Linked DNA regions of Homo sapiens: all the other regions are linked to region 1. Evidence: promoter capture Hi-C in 16 types of primary human blood cells and fetal thymus (Javierre and others, 2016). All regions are on one chromosome and are shown on one strand. Each heading gives the region's core, a stretch centred on a gene start or on the middle of the fragment in contact. The rest is flanking DNA. Distances are from core to core; before and after follow the strand shown.

Region 1 (2,833 bases), core at 180-2,679:
ATGTGATACGTATTCATTGATTTATTAATTATTTAAGACCTACTTTATATTGAAGTATCCTACATGTTATAGGATACATGAGACATTCAAACAAACACAGGACATGCCACTCCCTACAAAAGTGCATGGTTCAATTGAGGAAGGAAGTCTTACAGATGGGACAGAGAACCAGAAAATAACATAAAGCCAACATGTAATGTGTAGGTCCACCTCTCTATCTTTGTAGGGATATAGCATTTCAGACCAAAACCTTTAATTTGGGTCTGAGAATTCAGGAACAAATATTTTCCTTGGTAAGGACATTTCTTGCACAATTTCTAATAGTGCAAAATTGGAAACACCGTGAAGGGCACCAACAAGGCAAGGTTGAGTAACTATTGTTCTTATCACAGGACGTCACATGGTCATTAAGAAGAATGGGGGAAAACTACATTAAGATGACCTGAAAAGATAAGGAACACATATTTTTTGAAGGATAAAAGTCAGCTGTATAGTGATCCATATACAATACTTCTATGTATATGTGTACCTCTATGTCTTAAACGTGTCTCATTGTATACATATACATGTGTGCATATAAGTGCAGACAGAATTGAAAACTAATGCAAAATTGTTACCAGTGTTTACCACTGAATAGTAGGAATGTGGAGAAATGATGAAGAGAAATTTGTGTTTTATTTCAAAGACATCTGCAGCATACGAATCTTTTGCAATAAATTATATAATTTTTCTGTTAAATTAAAAATAAAAAGAAAAATAAATATGCTGGGTCCTACTTTTTAGGTATTCTTAGGTGGTAGAAACAAGTAGCTTCTTTTGTAATATAAAGGAGGATGAGTTTCATTTGTAGTTTCTAGATGAAATTACAAAAGATAATATAGATTGAAGGCAGAAAGAATCCAATAAGCTAAAATCCAAAGACAACCTTTGACGGTAATTGGCTCTTATTTTACTTACATGCTCCAAACCAATCCCAATATTTATCAACATTCATGAAAAGAACATTTGCTTTCTTTGGCAAGCAAAGATAACTTTCTCTTTCAAGGGCCACATGTTTGTGCCTTCAGGTGCTCCTAAAGTTTCTATTAAGCCTAAAAACTGCAGTATAGAAAAGGCAGGGCGTATTGTTATAAATCATACAAAGAAAATGCATGTAGTATTTCAGTCTAGTTCTTACCTTCCTGAACGGAGTTCTTACACAGGTGTAAGGAAGATAAGTATTGAGAAAGGGAGAGTGGGAATGTGAAGTGATGCACATTAAGCAAGTTAGTAGGAATTTGACCTGTCTGGTCTTTCTCTGGGTTGGGCACAGCTTCAAATGCTTATGTGTGTATCACCACATACCCTCACTTCCTCCTTTCCTACCTCTTCCTTCTTACTGGCTTTGAGAAAGAGCATATAAATGACATCTTCAGGGCATGAGAAGCCACTTATCTGCAGACTTGTAGGCAGCAACTCACCCTCACTCAGAGGTCTTCTGGTTCTGGAAACAACTCTAGCTCAGCCTTCTCCACCATGAGCCTCAGACTTGATACCACCCCTTCCTGTAACAGTGCGAGACCACTTCATGCCTTGCAGGTGCTGCTGCTTCTGTCATTGCTGCTGACTGCTCTGGCTTCCTCCACCAAAGGACAAACTAAGAGAAACTTGGCGAAAGGCAAAGGTAGAGGCCCTGCTTCTCTGCACTTGTTGCTGCTTCTGCTACACCTGTCTCTGGGGTAAAGACTAGCTTGGTGCCTTTGGGGCTGGAGAGGGCCATTATACCAATAACTCCAATTGGAGGAGACACACAGGGGGGTCACTTCTCACTTCTTGTGTGCTGGGCAATCTTCTGGGCACTTTACTAAAGCGTTACAGATCATATTCACAATGGCTTTATGAGAGAGGTACAATTGCCCTCAATCTGCAAATAAGAGACCTGAGGAAAATATTCATGACCACCAATAGGTCACATTTTCTACCCTAGAGGAAAGTCTAGACAGTGACTTGTATGCTGAACTCCGCTGCATGTGTATAAAGACAACCTCTGGAATTCATCCCAAAAACATCCAAAGTTTGGAAGTGATCGGGAAAGGAACCCATTGCAACCAAGTCGAAGTGATGTAAGTTGCTGTTTCTGTGCTATTGCCTTATCAGAGAAACCCTCTACCTCCATCCACATATGCACTCGTTTCCTCCAGTCTCATGGATTAGTTCTGATATTCAGATCAGGACACCCACAGATAACCCTGTTCTCTTTTGCAGAGCCACACTGAAGGATGGGAGGAAAATCTGCCTGGACCCAGATGCTCCCAGAATCAAGAAAATTGTACAGAAAAAATTGGCAGGTGATGAATCTGCTGATTAATTTGTTCTGTTTCTGCCAAACTTCTTTAACTCCCAGGAAGGGTAGAATTTTGAAACCTTGATTTTCTAGAGTTCTCATTTATTCAGGATACCTATTCTTACTGTATTAAAATTTGGATATGTGTTTCATTCTGTCTCAAAAATCACATTTTATTCTGAGAAGGTTGGTTAAAAGATGGCAGAAAGAAGATGAAAATAAATAAGCCTGGTTTCAACCCTCTAATTCTTGCCTAAACATTGGACTGTACTTTGCATTTTTTTCTTTAAAAATTTCTATTCTAACACAACTTGGTTGATTTTTCCTGGTCTACTTTATGGTTATTAGACATACTCATGGGTATTATTAGATTTCATAATGGTCAATGATAATAGGAATTACATGGAGCCCAACAGAGAATATTTGCTCAATACATTTTTGTTAATATATTTAGGAACTTAATGGAGTCTCTCAGTGTCTTAGTCCTAGGATGTCTTATTTAAAATACTC
Region 2 (2,833 bases), core at 150-2,649, 420 kb after region 1:
TCAAAACAGAAAATCTAATTGTTGTTGTCCTTAAAGAGGATTAAGAGAACGAGATGGGGTAGAAAATTTATTCAACAGGGTAATAATAGAGAAATTCCCAAACCTAGAGAAAGATATCAATATCCATGTACAAGAAGGTTATAGAACACCAGGCAGATTTAACCCAAAGAAGACTACCTCAAAAGATTTAATAATCGAACTCCCAAAGGTCAAGGATAACGAAAGGATTCTAAAAGCAGCAAGATAAAAGAAACAAATAACATGCAATGAAGCTCTATCTGGCAGCAGATTTTTCAGTGGAAATCCTACAGGCCAGGAGTGAGTGGCATTACATATTTAAAATGCTGAAGGAAAATACTGTTACCCTAGAATAGTATATCTAGTAATAATATCCTTCAAACATCAAGAAAAATTAAACACTTTCCCAAACAGACAAAAGCTGAGAGATTTTATTAGCGTCACAACTCTCCTACAAGAAATGCTAAAGGGAGTTCTACAACCAGAAAACAAAGGATATTAATCAACATTAAAAATCTTCTGAAGGTACAAAACTCACTGGTGATAGTATGTACATAGAAAAAGATAGAATATCATAACACTATTATTGTGGTATGTAAACTACTCTTAACTAGAGAGACTAAAAGATGAACCAATCAAAAATAATAACTACAATAAATTTTCAAGACATAGTACAATAAGACATAAAGGAAAACAACAAAAAGTTTAAAAGTGAGGGAATACAATTAAAGTATAGAGATTTTATTAGTTTTCTTTTTGTTTGCTTATGCAATCAGTAGTTAAGTTGTCATAAGTTTAAAATAATAGGTTAAAAGATACAGTTTGCAAGCAACATGGAATCTCAAATCAAAAATCATACAATGGATACATGAAAAAATAAAAAACAAGAAATTTAATCATACTACCAGAGAAAATCATCTTCACTAAAAAAAAGACAGGATGCAGGATGGAAGAAAAGGAAGAAGAGAACACCGCAAAAGGGCTGGAAAACAAACAACGAAATGACAAGGGTTAAGTCCTTACTTATCAAAAAAAAAAAAAACGTTGAATGTAAATGGACTAAACTCTCCAATCAAAAGACATAGTGTGGCTGAACGCATGTAAAAAAAAAAAAAAAAAAAAAACAAGATGCAATGATCTGAATGATCTGTTCCCTACAAAAAACACACTTCACCTGTAAAGGCACATTTACATTCAAAATAAAGGGATGGAAAATATATTCCATGCCAATGAAAAGCATAAAAGAGCTGGCATAGCTAGTTGGCATAGCTAGAATACACCTCCTGCTCAGCATATAATCATCCTCAAGACAGACCATGTGTTAGGTCACAAAACAAGTCTGAAAATATGCAAAAAATTGAAATAATATCAAGCAACTTCTCTGATAACAATAGAATAAAACTAGAAATCAATAACAGAGTAATTTTGAAAACTGTACAAGCACATGGAAATTAACATATTCCTGAATGACCAGTGGGTCAATGAAGAAATTAAGAAGGAAGCTGAAAAATTTCTTGAAACAAGTGATAATGGAAATGCGACATACAAAAACCTGTGGGAAGGCAGTGAAAGCAGGACTAAGAGTGATATTTATAGATATAAGCACCTACATCAAAAAAAGAAAAAAAATTTCCAATAAATAACCTAACAATGCATTTTAAGAATTAAAAAAACAGGAGCAACCAAACCCAAAATTAGGAAAGAAAAGAAATAATAAAAATTAGAGGAGAAATAAATAAAATTAAAACTAAGAAAACAATACAAAAGATGAATTAAACAAAGTTTGTGTTTTTAAAAGATAGATAAAATTGACAAACCTTTACCCAGACTAATTAATAAAAAGAGAGAGATGACCAAAATAAATAAAATCAGAGATGAAAAAGGAGACATTAAAACCAATACCACAGAAATTCAAAGGGTCATAGATGGCTACTTGGAGAAACTATATCCTAGTAACTTGGAAAATCTAGAAGAAATGGATAAATTCCCAGATATATACAATCTACCAAAGTTGAACCATAAAGAAATCCAAAACCTGAGCAAACCAATAGCAAGTAGTAAGACCAAAGCTGTAATAAAAGTCTTGCAGCAAAGAAAAGCCTGGGACCCAATGGCTGTGCTGTGAAATTTCCCAAACATTTAAATAACTAACACCAATCCTACTCAAACTATTCTGAAAAATAAAGGAGGAGGGCATACTTTGAAACTCATTCTATGGGGCCATTATTACCCTGATACCAAAACCAGACAAGATATTAAAAAAAAAAAAACCCACAACACTACAGGCCAATATCCCTGATGAATATTGATATAAAGATCCTCAACAAAATACTAGCAAATGAAATTCATCAACACATTAAAGAGATCACTTATCATGACCAAGTGGGATTTATTACAGAGATGCAAGGATGATTCAACATATGCAAATCAATCAATGTGATACTTCATATCAACAGAATGAAGAACAAAAACCAAAGATCTTTTCAATTGATACTGAAAGAGCATTTGATAAAATTCAACATCCCTTCATGATAAAAACCCTCCAAAAACTGGATGTAGAAGGAACTTACCTCAACATAATAAAAAGCCATATATGACAGATCCACAGCTAGGATCATACTGAATGGAGAAAAACTTAAAGCCTTTCCCCTAAGATGTGGAACGAAACAAGGATGCTCATTTTACCACTGTTATTCAACATAGTACTGGAAGTCCTAGCTAGAGCAATCAGACAAGAGAAAGAAATAAAGGACATCCAATTTGGAAAGGAAGAAATCAAATTATCCATCTTTCAAATGATATAATCTAATATTTG
Region 3 (2,833 bases), core at 165-2,664, 410 kb after region 1:
ATGTGTGGGTGTTATAAATGTTTGTGTCTGTATACTTTGATGTTAATTTACTGATCTCTCAATATAGGACTTATCTTTTTAACAGTCCAATGAGCCACCCCAAAACCCACCCATCTCTACATCTGCTGAACCCACCCCATTTCTACAGAGCCTTGGAATACTTGGAGATTGTGCATATAAATAAAATATGTGGAAATAAATCCTTACTTAATATCTCTATCCGTTTTTAAATATGCATCTGGTGACATTCTTTCTTACTTATTTTGAAATCTTAAACTGCACTAAAGAGGGGTGTAATTGTCCAGTGAAAATGTTATAAGCATCCTCAAATGGTGTTTTACCTAATTTACTCTAGAAACAATATAAAGCTGCTTAAAAGAACACATAATATTCAAAAACAACAAAGAAAAACAAACAAAAACAAAACAAATTTTTTAAATTAATGACCTTGGATTTTTTTTGCCCTATAAGAAGATTATGTTCAAGATATTGAATACCCTTAATATAATATAATTTTAAAGACTTATGTGACAATTCTTTTTCTAGACATCAATTTTCATTCCAGCCTTTGAATCAGAAACTAAGGTCAGAGTAAACAGTAACATGAGAACTGAAGAAGTAATAAAGCAACTTCTCCAAAAATTTAAGGTAACCTTTATCACTTAACTGAGCTATAAATATATTATATATAATTCAACTATAAACACACAAATCCACTCTTCTGAAACAGATCTATAAAGGTGTAAATCTAAATTGGATGTTGAGCACTGAAAGATTCTTTCCTTTGTATAACACCTTTTAGTAACTATCCCTTGAAAAATTATATAATTCCCATAAGAGCAGAGAAGATTTTATGTCTAAAAGTGAAAAATGGAAGAGAGAAAACAGACATGATTTGGGTCTGGTCAGGTTAGAAAACATCATATAACAACAAAGAATTTATATTTGTTCATTTTTTCCCTTGACAGATTGAAAATAGTCCCCAGGATTTTGCTCTTCACATTATTTTTGCAACAGGAGGTAAGAAAGCTTGATCACACTTTTTACCTGACTCTAGAGTGCTACAGTTTGCTGCCCAGGGGGAAGGCAGAAGAACAGTTTGCCTCATTCTGTGGAGAAAGGGGAGGAATGGGTAGGAGAAAAGGAAGGAGTGGTCTTTAGAACATTATCTATAGTCCACAATTTTAAAGAAAGATAACTTAAGAATAAGGTATCCCTGAAGGGTTGATTATATGAAAGAGTTTGCTTGTTGGCCAGACATTAAATTATCTAAATGGAGATCAAAACCCTCTGGAACTGTTTCGGCACTTTTGTCTTTGCTCACCTCTGTAACTTTCTTTTTGGCTTTCCTTTCTGAGTGTTGCTCTTAGAGGAGTCATGATTGCATACCTGTTCTCTCTGACATTGATATTGCCTCTTTTTTAGCACAGGGTCTGACACATTGCGGGAGTGCTATCTCTTCCTCAGTAGAGATGCATATTCAGAACTTCGTGGTGAGGGGTGAAAGGTTAGAAGCAGAACATTGGGAAGGCGCTGTAAGTGGGATGCTAGGAGCATAATAGAGAGAATAGAGAAAACTTAAAGTGATACTGAAATGAAAGTTTTTAAAACTTCACAAATGAAAAATTTTATATATCAATTTGTAGAAAAAACTCATGCTATAATTTAAGTGTCAGAATGTTCAAGCCAGAAATTTATTAGAATAAAATAATACATTTTGATGCCAGAACACCTTAAGAAAATGAAAGCTGTATCTCTAAACATATATAAAATTAAAGTTCTTATAATTGAAAGCTTAAAGATCTATAATTAAAGACTTAAACGTTAGACCTAAAACCATAAAAACCCTAGAAGAAAACCTAGGCATTACCATTCAGGACATAGGCATGGGCAAGGACTTCATGTCTAAAACACCAAAAGCAATGGCAACAAAAGCCAAAATTGACAAATGGGATCTCATTAAACTAAAGAGCTTCTGCACAGCAAAAGAAACTACCATCAGAGTGAACAGGCAACCTACAAAATGGGAGGAAATTTTCGCAACCTACTCATCTGACAAAGAGCTAATATCCAGAATCTACAATGAACTCAAACAAATTTACAAGAAAAAAACAAACAACCCCATCAAAAAGTGGGCAAAGGACATGAATAGACACTTCTCAAAAGAAGACATTTATGCAGCCAAAAAACACATGAAAAAATGCTCACCATCACTGGCCATCAGAGAAATGCAAATCAAAACCACAATGAGATACCATCTCACACCAGTTAGAATGGCAATCATTAAAAAGTCAGGAAACAACAGGTACTGGAGAGGATGTGGAGAAATAGGAACACTTTTACACTGTTTGTGGGACTGTAAACTAGTTCAACCATTGTGGAAGTCAGTGTGGCGATTCCTCAGGGATCTAGAACTAGAAATACCATTTGACCCAGCCATCCCATTACTGGGTATATACCCAAAGGACTATAAATCATGCTGCTATAAAGACACATGCACACGTATGTTTATTGCGGCATTATTCACAATAGCAAAGACTTGGAAGCAACCCAAATGTCCAACAATGATAGACTGGATTAAGAAAATGTGGCACATATACACCATGGAATACTATGCATCCATAAAAAATGATGAGTTCATGTCCTTTGTAGGGACATGGATGAAATTGGAAATCATCATTCTTAGTAAACTATCGCAAGAACAAAAAACCAAACACCGCATATTCTCACTCATAGGTGGGAATTGAACAATGAGAACACATGGACACAGGAAGGGGAACATCACACTCTGGGGACTGTTGTGGGGTCGGGGGAGGGGGGAGGGATAGCATTA
Region 4 (2,833 bases), core at 334-2,833, 380 kb after region 1:
ATAGCTCTTCAGCCCTTGCCGCTTTCCCTCTCTCTTGCATCTAGTGGTCCCCAGTGCTCATTGTTCCCATCTTTGTGTCCATGTGTACCCGGTGTTAAACTCTCACTTATAAGTGAGAATATACAATATTTGATTTTCTGTTTCTCTATTAGTTCACTTAGGATAATAGCCTCCGGCTGCATCCATATTGCTGCAAAGGACATGATTTTGCTCTTTTTTATGGCTACAGAGTATTCCATGGTGTCTATGTACCACATTGTTTTTATCCAATCCAGCACAGATGGGCACCTGGGTGGATTCCATGTCTTTGCTATTGTGAATAGTGTTGTGATAAACACAGGGGTGTGTATGTCTTTTTGGTAGAATGTTTTATTTTCCTTTGGGTCTATATCCAGTAAAGGGATTGTTGGGTTGAAAGGTAGTTCAACTTTTAGATTTTTGAAAAATCTCCAAACTGCTTTCCACAGTGACTAGACTAATTTACATTCCCACCAACAGTGTATAAGTGACCAAAAGACATGGGCAGACACTTCTCAAAAGAAGACATACAAGCAGCCAACAAACATGAAAAAATGCTCATCATCACTAATCAGAGAAATGCAAGTCAAAACCACAGTGAGACACCATCTCACACCAGACAGAATGGCTTTTATAAAAAAGTCAAAAAATAACATATGTTGGCGAGGCTGCAGAAAAAAGGGAAAAATCCTCAGGTATTTGAAGTTGGAAGAGTGAGACAGAATTCAGAGCTTTCTGATCATTCAGGGTTTGCATTTTTGCTTCAATCGAGATAGACTACTTCTCCACAAATTTCTCAGTTTCCAGACTTTGGAACTCAGTCCCTTCATTTGCAAAGGAAATGCGAATAACCTACTTTCCTAGCTGAGGAGGGTCTCTATGCAAAGATTGAAAAGCATTCTTTCTTCATCATTTGAACCAGATGAGGCCAAAAGCGAAAAGACCTGGAGCCATGGCTGTTTATGAAAGAGGAGCCAAAACTTGTAATTTTAATTCCAGGATTCAAATGGACAGGAATAAAGGATAAAATGGGTTTGGAGAATTCTGCTTCTATTACAGACATCATTAATATGGAATGATGATTTATCTTGGCAAATAGCTTGATGACAAGGCTTTATTCAGTTCTCTTCTGCGTCCTCATATTTCCTGATTCCATCTTTCCAAAAACATACAAGAGTGTATATTACATTTTTATGAACCTAAAAAATATCATGAAAGTATCACACGTTTCTTATATAGAATTTATAGGCCGGGCATGGTGGCTCACACCTGTAATCCCAGCACTTTGGGAGGCTGAGGCAGGTGGATCATCTGAGGTCAGGAGTTTGAGACCAGCCTGGCCAACATGGTGAAACCCCATCTCTACTGAAAATACGAAAATTAGCCTGGCCTGGTGGCAGCTGCCTATAATCCCAGCTACTCGGGAGGCTGAGGCAAGAGAATCACTTGAACCCAGGAGGTGGAGGTTGCAATGAGATGAGATCACACCATTGCACTCCAGCCTGGGCAATAAGAGCGAAACTCCATCTCAAAAAACAAAAAAAAAAAAAAAGAAAGAAAATGATTTATAAGGTATATAGAATTATAACATAGGAAATAAAAATCACAACCTTAATTCCCAGCAAATAATTTGTTACCTTTACATATTTAATGTAATGTTTAATATGTTTAACTTTAATATTTTGTAGTTATTTTATAAAACTATAAAGTTCTAAATTCAGCTTTTTGAACCTGACATATGAAATTGTTAAATAGCTTCACTGCTAAAATTTAATATCGTGAACAAAATCAGTGGGAAAAAGAAAACCTGTGCAAGAGAACTAATTAGCACTATCCTTTTCTTCCTCAGTTTTTCACCTGCTGAAGTCTGTTTCAAATATTCTTGGTTCCTGCTCTTAAACATGGCAACACACACAGTGGAATGGTTGTTTTGCTTTGTTTTGTTTTGTTTTGTTTTGTTTTTTTGAGACAGAGTCTCACTGTCGCTCAGGCTGGAGTGCAGTGGTGTGATCTCCACTCACTGCAACCTCCACCTCCCGGGTTCACGCCATTCTTCTGCCTAGACTCACGAGTAGCTGGGACTACAGGCGCCGGCCACCACACCTGGCTATTTTTTTCTATTTTTTAGTAGAGATGGGGTTTCACCATGTTAGCCAGGATGGTCTCCATCTCCTGACCTCGTGATCCGCCCACCTCGGCCTCCCAAAGTGCTGGGATGAAATGTTGTTCTTAATGTTGTTGTCACTAAGCAGCTCAGTGGCTGCTTAATTGGAACCATGAACATTTTTCAGCAAGTCTCCAAGAAGCAGAAGTAATACAAACTCAGGAAGCACAGCCAGGGGATAAACATGCCTTTGGCAACCTCGTTGAGTGTATTTTCCCCTGAGGTTCATTTGTATCACACGGAAGTCTTTCAAGTTTGTGTAGGGTGACGGCATATGACAATATTTATGCTTTGTCCTTAGTGGGTTCAAACTGTAAGAATCACTTTGTAAAGACTAGGACAGGGTTCTTTGCCTTTTAGGGAAGGACTAGGATGGCCACTTAATTATGCTGTAAGTCATTATTAAAACAAGAGGAAAAAAATCTCTTAGTACAACTAATATTTGACATCCACTCTATCTATGGATATCAGACATAATTCACTTCCACCCATAATCCTATCCCACATTCATGTATATTACAGTTTTATAAAATTAAATAAAAAGTTTCTTCCAGCCAGCCAAATACCTGATAAGATTGAGGAACTCATTTCATGCTAAGTACATTATTCATGGCAAACGTCAGAATGCGGGTAATTCCCATAGGCTGAGCA
Region 5 (2,833 bases), core at 102-2,601, 340 kb after region 1:
CCCAGACAAACACAAGCTGAGGGATTTCATCAACACCAGACCTGTCCTACAAGAAATGCTAAAGAGACTACTGCAATCAGAAAGAAAAAGATGTTAATTAGGAAGAAAAACATCACCCTAAGGTATAAAACTCACTGGCAATAGTAAGTATAGGGAAAAACTTAGACTATCATAACACTGTAACTGTGGCGTGTAAACCACTCTTAAGTAGAAAGACTAAAAGATGAACTAATAAAAAATAATAACTACAAAAACTTTTTAAGACAGAAACAGTACAAAGATCACTGAAACAATAAAATTTTTTAAATCAGGTGATGAAATTAAAGTGTAGAGTTTTTCTTAGTTTACTTCTTGCATCTTTGATAAATCGTTTACACAAGTACTATAAAGCTGTTATCAGCTTAAAATAATAGGAAATAAGATAGTATTTGCAAGCCTCATGGTAACCTTGAATCAAAAAAACATATAGCAGATACACAAAAAATAAAAAGCAAGAAATTAAATTATACCACTGGGAAAATTACCTTCAGTAAAAGGAAGACAGGAAGGAAAGAAAGAAAGAAGAAGAGACCGTAACACCATCAGAAAATGAACAAGAAAATTATAAGAGTAATACCTTACTTATCCGTAATAACATTGAATGTAAATAGACTAAACTCTCCAATCAAAAGACATAGAGTGGATGAATGGATAGAAAAGTACGACCCAATGATTTGTTGTCTGCAACAAACACAAACTATAAAGATACAAATAGACTGAAAACAAAAGGATGGAAAAAGATATTCCACATCAATGAAAACCAAAAAAGAGGAGTAGCTATACATACATATATATGTATAAATATATATGAAATATATATAGAGAGAGAAATCCACTTTTTTTTTGATTTGGGTCTTCTTTCTTTTTTTCTTAGTCTGTCTAATGATTCGTTAATTGTGTTTATTTATTCAAAAAAACAACTTTTTCTGCCATTAATTTTTTGTATTTTTTTCATTTAAAATTTATTTCCACTCTGATCTTTATTATTTCTCTTCTATTAGTTTATATATATATATATATTTGATGTTTATATATATATATATTTGATATATATATATGTTTCAAGACAAAAACTCTAAGAGCCAAAAATCACTATATAATGATAAAGGAGTCAATTCAGCAACGGGATATAACAATTGTAGATACATGTGCACCCACCACTGTAGCACCCAGATATAGGAAGCAAATATTAATAGAGCTAATGAGAGAGACCGATCACAATAAAATAATAGGTGGATACTTCAACGCTCTACTTTGAGCACTGGAATAATCTTCCAGACAGTAAATCAATAAAGAAACATCTGACTTAATCTGCACTATAAACCAAATAGACCTAATAGATATTTACAGAGCATTTCATCCAATGGCTACAGAATATACATTCTTTTCCTCAACACGTGGATTATACTCAACAATAGACCATATGTTAAGTCACAAAACAAGTCTTAAAACATTAAAAAATCTTGAAGTGATATTCATCATCTTCTCTGACAACAGTGGAAACAAACCCTAGAAACAAAAACAAATGAGCAATTTTGGGAACTGTACAAACACACAGAAATTAAATGATATGCTCCTGAATAACCAGTGGGTCAATGAAGAGATTAAGGAGGAAATTTAAAAATGTCTTGAAACAAATGACAATGGAAACACAATGTAACAAAACTAATGGGATACAGAAAAAGTAATACTAAGAGGGAAGTTTATAGCTATGAGTGCCTACAGCAAAAAACAAGAAAAACTTCAAATAAATAACCTAACAATACATCTTAAAGAACTACAAAAACAGGAGCAAATCAAACCCCAAACTAGCAGAACAGAAATAATAAAGATCAGAGTGGAAATAAATTTTAAATGAAAAAATACAAAAAATTAATGGAACAAAAAGTTGGGTTTTTGAATACATAAATGAAATTAACGAATCTTTAACCATACTAAGAAAAAAAGATGGAAGACCCAAATGAATAAAATAAGAGATTAAAAAAGGAGATATTACAACTGATGCTGCAGAAATTTAAAGAATCATTAGTGGCTATTATGAGCAACTACATGCCAATAAATTAGAAAAATCTTAAAAATAAATAAATAAATTTCTAGGTACATAAAATCTAACAAGTTTGAACAATGAAGAAATCCAAAACCTGAACAGACCAATAACAAACAATGAGATCAAAGCCATAATAAAGTTTCCCAGCAAAGAAAAGCCCAAAACTCAAAGGCCTCCCTGTTTAATTCCAACATTTAAAGAAATAATACCAATCCTACTTTAATTACTCTGAAAAGTTGAGCAGGAGGGAATACTTCCAAACTCATTCTATGAGGCCAGTATTACTCTGATACCAAAACCAAACACACACACACACACTCACACACACACACAGAGAGAGAGAGAGAGAAAACTACAGGCCAATATCTTTGTTGAATATTGATGCAGGATATCCTCAACAAAATACTAGCAAACTGAATTCAACAATGCATTTAAAAGATCATTCATGATGGCCAAGTGGGTTTTTTCCAGAGATACAATGATAGTTTAACATACACAAATCAATCGAAATGATACATCATGTCAACAGAATGAAAGACAAATACTATATGACCATTTCAAATGATACTGGGAAAGCATTTGATAAAATTCAACATCCCTCGTGATAAAACCCTCAAAAAACTGAACATAGAAGGAACATATCTCAATTCAATAAAAGCCATATTAAAGACTCACAGCTAGCATCATACTAAATGGGGAAAAGCTGAAAGCCTTTTATCTGAGAACTGGAACATAACAAGGATGCCC
Region 6 (2,833 bases), core at 106-2,605, 320 kb after region 1:
GATGATAGGTTTCCAGCTCAACCGGAAGAAGAAGGTATGCACTTTAATCTGTCATTTGGCTATAAATACCCACCACTGTGTATCACCTGGCTGTTTAGCTTATTCTTACCAGAATTGGATGTGGACCGTACCATCCTTAACAAATGATTCTTATCAAGTACATAATGTGTTCAGTAGCAATTCTTTTCAACTTCTCACTGTTAAACTTAAGCCTCTTGAGGAATTGAGGGCTCCTGTCACTACTAACAGCAATAAAACAAAAGGACTGCCAGACTGCCCAAAGAAACCTACAAAGGGAACTTTTCTACTGAATTCAATTTTATGGAATGATTGTAATGCTCCCAAGGCCATTGTGCTGCAAAGTCTAGCCATGGGAACTGTTATTGATTGGGCTCCAAAAGAGCATTATTCGCAGGATTGCTCCAGCAAAAATACCTCATGCTCGGAGTATAATTATTTGTTAGATTATATAAAGGATGGATGGCAGTCATACAGGTTGAGACAATAGGTGTCTCCTTACCCATTTAAATGGATGGACGCAGGCATTGTTCCTCCTAGACCAAAAATGATTCATCCCATTGTTACCCCAGAACATCCTGAATTATGGAAATTAGCTGCAGCTATAACAGGAATAAGGATATGGAACACTACTTATCAACTCCTTCACACTAATACCAAAACACCCACATTCAACATCACCTTGATATCTAAACAGGTAATACCCATCAGGAGTTGTGTCAAAACCACTCACCTGCTGTTAGTTAGAAATATAATTATCATTCCCAGTACACAAACTATAGAATGTGATAATTGTAAGCTGTTCACGTGCATTGATGCTACTTTTAATCCCACAACAAGTATTCTCTTGGTAAGTGCTAGGGAGGGGGTATGGATACCAGTTTCTTTACATCATCCGTGGGAGTCTTCCCCCTCTATATACATAGTCAATGAAGTTCTTAAAGGTATCCTCAAAAGAACAAAGAGATTTATTTTTACTCTTATTGCAGTCATTGCAGGTCTAATTGCGGTTACTGCAACAGTGGCAACTGCTGGAGTTATGATTCACAATTCCGTTCAAACCACTCAATGTGTTGAAGCATGGCAAAAAAACTCCTCCAGACTTTGGAATTCTAAGGCTCAAATTGATCAAAAATTAGCTAATCAAATTAATGATCTCTGCCAACGTGTGATATGATTGGGAAATAGAGTTATGAATTTGGAACACCGTATGCAATTACAGTGTGATTGGAATACTTCTGATTACTGCATAATGCCTTATGCTTATAATAAAGATCAGCATAGCTGGGAAAAGTTCTCAAGACATTTAAAAGCCTGGGATGATAACTTAACCTTGGATATTTCAAAACTTAAAGAACAAATTTTTGAGGCTTCACAGGCTCATTTATCCACTGTTCCTGGCTCAGACATTTTTGAAGGAATAACTAAAGAATTATCTGATCTTAATCCCTTTAAATGGATCAAACCCCTTGGAGAATCATTGTTGTCACTGGCATTATTAATACTGGTATGCTTATGTTGTCTCTTTTAGTCTGCAGATGCCTCCAAGGAGTCCGGAAACAAGTCCAAAGTCAACGACAAGCAATGATGGTGATGGCGATCCTAGTTAATAAAAAGGGGGCAGATGTGGGTGGCAAGCCAATCAGGTGCCAAGGCAAGAGACCGAGGGCACGAGCTGTTCCAATATAATAAAATATATAAAACAACAAGAGTTATACTAGATCTAGATCATAGACATGATTATACATGAATATCATTAATCATTAGTTTGTAGCAATTACGCTTTATTCCAATATTATAATAATCCTCGCTCTACAATCATAACCTAGGAAAAGCCAGGCCATACAGAGATAGGAGCTGAGGAGACATGGTGAGAAGTGACCAGAAGACAAGAGTGTGAGCCCTCTGTCAAGTCCAGACAGGGCCACTAGAGGGCTCCTTGGTCTAGCGGTAACGCCAGCATCTGGGAAGACGCCTGTTGCCAAGTGGACCATGGTCTAGTGGTAGCGTCAGTGCCAAGGAAAAACACCCGCTACTTAGCAGACCAGGAAAGGGAGTCTCCCTTTCCCTGGGGGAGTTTAGAGAAGACTCTACTTCTCCACCTCTTGAGGAGGGCCTGACATCAGTCAGGCCCACCCACAGTTATCCGGAGGCCTGTCTCCCTGTGATGCTGTGCTTCAGTGGTCATGCTCCTAGTCTGCTGTCATGTTCCATCCTGTGCACCTGGCTCTGCCTTTTAGATAGCAGTAGCAAAATTGGTTAAAGTACTAAAAGTCTCTGATATGCAGAAATAATGGTGTAAGCTGTCTCCTCTCTCCGCCTCAGCTGCCAAACAGGGAAGGGCCCCCTGTCCAGTGGACACGTGACCCACGTGACCTTACCTATCATTGGAGATGGCTCACACTCCTTACCCTACCCCTATGTCTTGTATCCAATAAATATCAGCACAGCCTGGCATTTGGGGCCACTACCGGTCTCCATGTCTTGGTGGTAGTGGTGCCCTGGGCCCAGCTGCCTTTTCTTTTATCTCTTTGTCTTGTGTCTTTATTTCTACAATCTCTCATCTCCACACATGGGGAGAAAAACCCACCGACCCTGTGGGGCTGGTCCCTACAATTCTCTTGGTCTTCTGTTCCAGCTCTAATGAATTAAAAAACTAAGAAAGTAAGAAATGGATATTTAATATCCTGGCTATGTTCTTTGAAGGGTGTCTCTGCAGACCACTAAAGTGAATATTTCTATAACATACACTGGGCAAGTCCCAGATTTGTCCCGGAGTTTCTGCTTCCTATGCCCTAAGTCAAGGTCAGATGTA
Region 7 (2,833 bases), core at 181-2,680, 300 kb after region 1:
TTGACTCTGTAAATTGCTTTGGGTAATATGGCCATTTTAATGATATACATTCTTCTTATCCATTAGCGTGGAATGTTTTTCCATTTGTTTGTGTTATCTCATTCCTTTGAGCAGTGTTTTGTAATTCTCATTGTAGAGTCCTTTCACCTCCCTGGTTAGCCACATTTCTAGGTTATTTATTTGTTTATTTATTTTGTGGCAATTGTGAATGGAATTGCATTCCTGATCTGGCTCTCAGTTTGGCTGTCATTAGTGTATAAGAATGCCAGAGATTTTTGTATGCTGATTTTGTATCCTAAAACTTTGCTGAAGTTGTTTATCAGCTGAAGAAGCTTTGGGCCAAGACTACAGGGCTTTCTATATATGGAACCATGTCATCTGCAAATAGGGACAGTTTGACTTTCTTTATTCCTATTTGGATGCCTTTATTTCTTTCTCTTGCCTGATTGTTCTGGCCTGGACTTCCAATACTATGTTGAATAGGAGTGGTGAGAGAAGACATCCTTGTCTTGTATCAGTTTTCAAGGGGAATGTTTCCAACTTTTCCGCATTCAGTATGATGTTAGCTGTGGGTTTGCCATAGATGACTTATTATTTTGATGTTTGTCCCTTCAATACCTAGTTTACTGAGAGTTCTTAACATAAAAAGACATTGAATTTTATCAAAAGCCTTTTCTGCATCTATTGAGGTAATCATGTGGTTTTTGTCTTTAGTTATACTTATGCGATGGATTACATTTATTTATTTGTGTATGTTGAACCAATCTTGCATTCCAGGGAAAAAGCCTACTTGATCATTGTGGATTAACTTTTTGATGCACTGCTGGATTTGGTTTGCAAGTAGTTTGTTAAGGATTTTTGCATTAATATTCATCAAGAATATTGGCCTGAAGTTTTCTGTTTTTGTTGTGTCTCTGCCAGGTTTTGGTATCAGAATGATGCCGGCCTCATTGAATGAGTTGGGAGGAGTCCCTCCTTCTCAATTTTTAAAATTAGTTTCAGTAGAAATGACACCAGATCTTCTTTGTACATATGGTAAAATTTAGCTCTAAATCCATCTGATCCTGGGCTTTTTGGGGGGTTGGTAGGGTATTTATTATTTGTTCAATTTCAGATCTCATTTTTGGTGTGTTCAGGTAATCAAATTCTTCCTGGTTTAGTTTTTGGAGGTTATATTGTCCAGGAATTTATCCATCTTTTTAAGGTTTTCTAGTTTGTGTGCTTAGAGGTGTTCATAGTAGTTTCTGATGGTTATTTTTATTTCTGTGTGGTGAGTGGTAACATTTCCTTTGTTGTTTCTAATTGTGTTTATTTCAATCTTCTCTTTTCTTCTTTATTAGTTTAGCTAGCAGCCTATCTATCTCATCAATTTTTTCAGAAAAACTACTCTGGGCTCACTGATCTTTTGAATGGTTTTCCATGTCTTTATTTCCTTCAGCTCAGCTTGGATTTTGGTTATCTCTAATCTTCTGCTAGCTTTGGGGTTGGTTTGCTCTTGCTTCTCTGATGCTTTCAGTTGTAATATTAGGTTGTTAATTTGAAATATTCCCTTTTGTTGTTGGTGTTTAGTGCTATACATTTCCCTGTTAACACTCTTTCAGCTGTATCCCAGAGATTCCACTATGTTGTATTTTTGTTCTCATTAGTTTCAAAAAAGTCTTGATTTTTGCCTTAATTTCATTATTTACTCAAAAGTCACTCAGAAGCAGGTTGTTTTATTTCCATGTAATTGTATGGTTTTGAGCAATTTTTAAAGTTTTGACTTCTATATTTATTGCACTGTGGTCCAAGAGTGTGTTTGTGTGATTTTGGTTCTTTTGCATTGCTGAGGATTGTTTTATGTCTGACTGCTAGTCAATTAATAGAGTGTGTGCCATATAGCAATGAGAAGAATGTATATTCTCTTGTTTTGGGGTGGAGAGTTCTGTAGAGGTCTGAAAATATAATTCTCTACGATCAGATTTATTTTAATGTTGAGTTCAGGTCCAAATATCTGTTAATTTTTCACCTCAATGATCTGTCTAATATTATCAGTGGACTGTTGAAGTCTCCCACCATTATCGTGTGGGATTCTAAATCTTTTTGTAGGTCTCTTAGAACTTGCTTTATGAATCTGGGTTATCCTGTGTTGGGCGTGTTATATTCAGATTTTTAAAATAGTGCCTGTTACCAGATTAAAGGTACACTGTACTCCTCTGTACTATCTTTGCTATTTCCTATGTGTTCCACAATAAAAAAATAAAAAAAATATAGTTACTGACATAAATATTATCTAGTAATTTAAGATAGCATTCCTCTGAAAATTAAAATTCAGTTGGCAACTGAGTACATAATAGAAAATACATCATTCATGATCTGTCTTCAGTGTTACTTTATGGTTTTAGAAAATACTTTAAATAAATCATTCAAGTTATACTTACTGAAATATAAATATCAGAGTGGTAAATGTCAACATATTAGAATAAATATTTTCTTTTCCTGGCTCCTAAATCTAAGTGAATCTAGAAGTTCATCGACTAAGAAGCTTTAATATGACAACTGGAATGGGAATATATCAAGTGTGATAACATCTCAAAGATAAATGAGGATTGCATAAGAAAGGAGATATGGGCCAATTATTGCTTACCTTTTTTGAAAAGTGCCTCATTTCAGTCCCCATAAAGATAGTCAGAGGAGGACATGGGAGAGGAAAGAGAACTGATATTCCTCTCAGGGGTACATGGCAGAGCCAAGGCTAGATTCTGCATGGCAGTCACCAACAATCATCTCATCTTTGAGCACATTCTCCTTCCTGCTTCTGTGTCCTCTCCTCTCTTCACTTACGTCTCCTTCA

Evidence for each region. The method cuts DNA at HindIII sites, captures the fragments that hold promoters and counts their contacts. A CHiCAGO score of 5 or more calls a contact.
Region 2: a fragment that was not itself captured here is called in contact with the fragment with the promoter of PPBP in region 1 in 1 of 17 cell types (neutrophils); the score reaches 6.1 in neutrophils.
Region 3: a fragment that was not itself captured here is called in contact with the fragment with the promoter of PPBP in region 1 in 2 of 17 cell types (endothelial precursors and M1 macrophages); the score reaches 5.7 in endothelial precursors.
Region 4: a fragment that was not itself captured here is called in contact with the fragment with the promoter of PPBP in region 1 in 1 of 17 cell types (neutrophils); the score reaches 7.4 in neutrophils.
Region 5: a fragment that was not itself captured here is called in contact with the fragment with the promoter of PPBP in region 1 in 2 of 17 cell types (neutrophils and monocytes); the score reaches 7.9 in neutrophils.
Region 6: a contact is called between a fragment that was not itself captured here and the fragment with the promoter of PPBP in region 1, in 4 of 17 cell types (neutrophils, megakaryocytes, monocytes and 1 more). The highest score is 10.9, in neutrophils.
Region 7: a contact is called between a fragment that was not itself captured here and the fragment with the promoter of PPBP in region 1, in 4 of 17 cell types (monocytes, M1 macrophages, neutrophils and 1 more). The highest score is 5.9, in monocytes.

The regions. Positions count from the first base shown.
Region 1 is chr4:73,986,786-73,989,618 of GRCh38, reverse strand. It overlaps PPBP (pro-platelet basic protein), which reads left to right and starts at 1,429. Exons shown (of 3, transcript NM_002704.3): 1 at 1,429-1,663; 2 at 1,967-2,102; 3 at 2,245-2,833. The coding sequence starts at 1,516. The coding sequence ends at 2,347. The HindIII fragment of the contact is 3,234 bases long and covers 1-2,833 here.
Region 2 is chr4:73,563,975-73,566,807 of GRCh38, reverse strand. No RefSeq gene overlaps it. Among named protein-coding and RNA genes, the nearest start is that of RASSF6, 55 kb to the left of the region's middle. The HindIII fragment of the contact is 8,717 bases long and covers 1-2,833 here.
Region 3 is chr4:73,580,004-73,582,836 of GRCh38, reverse strand. RASSF6 (Ras association domain family member 6) reads left to right here. Exons shown (of 11, transcript NM_177532.5): 7 at 547-648; 8 at 969-1,020. Among named protein-coding and RNA genes, the nearest start is that of RASSF6, 39 kb to the left of the region's middle. The HindIII fragment of the contact is 765 bases long and covers 1,032-1,796 here.
Region 4 is chr4:73,603,622-73,606,454 of GRCh38, reverse strand. The region is part of intron 2 of RASSF6 (Ras association domain family member 6); the gene reads left to right. Among named protein-coding and RNA genes, the nearest start is that of RASSF6, 15 kb to the left of the region's middle. The HindIII fragment of the contact is 9,023 bases long and covers 1-2,833 here.
Region 5 is chr4:73,641,888-73,644,720 of GRCh38, reverse strand. No RefSeq gene overlaps it. Among named protein-coding and RNA genes, the nearest start is that of RASSF6, 23 kb to the right of the region's middle. The HindIII fragment of the contact is 5,364 bases long and covers 1-2,833 here.
Region 6 is chr4:73,665,256-73,668,088 of GRCh38, reverse strand. No RefSeq gene overlaps it. Among named protein-coding and RNA genes, the nearest start is that of UMLILO, 44 kb to the left of the region's middle. The HindIII fragment of the contact is 4,697 bases long and covers 1-2,833 here.
Region 7 is chr4:73,684,990-73,687,822 of GRCh38, reverse strand. No RefSeq gene overlaps it. Among named protein-coding and RNA genes, the nearest start is that of UMLILO, 24 kb to the left of the region's middle. The HindIII fragment of the contact is 2,192 bases long and covers 335-2,526 here.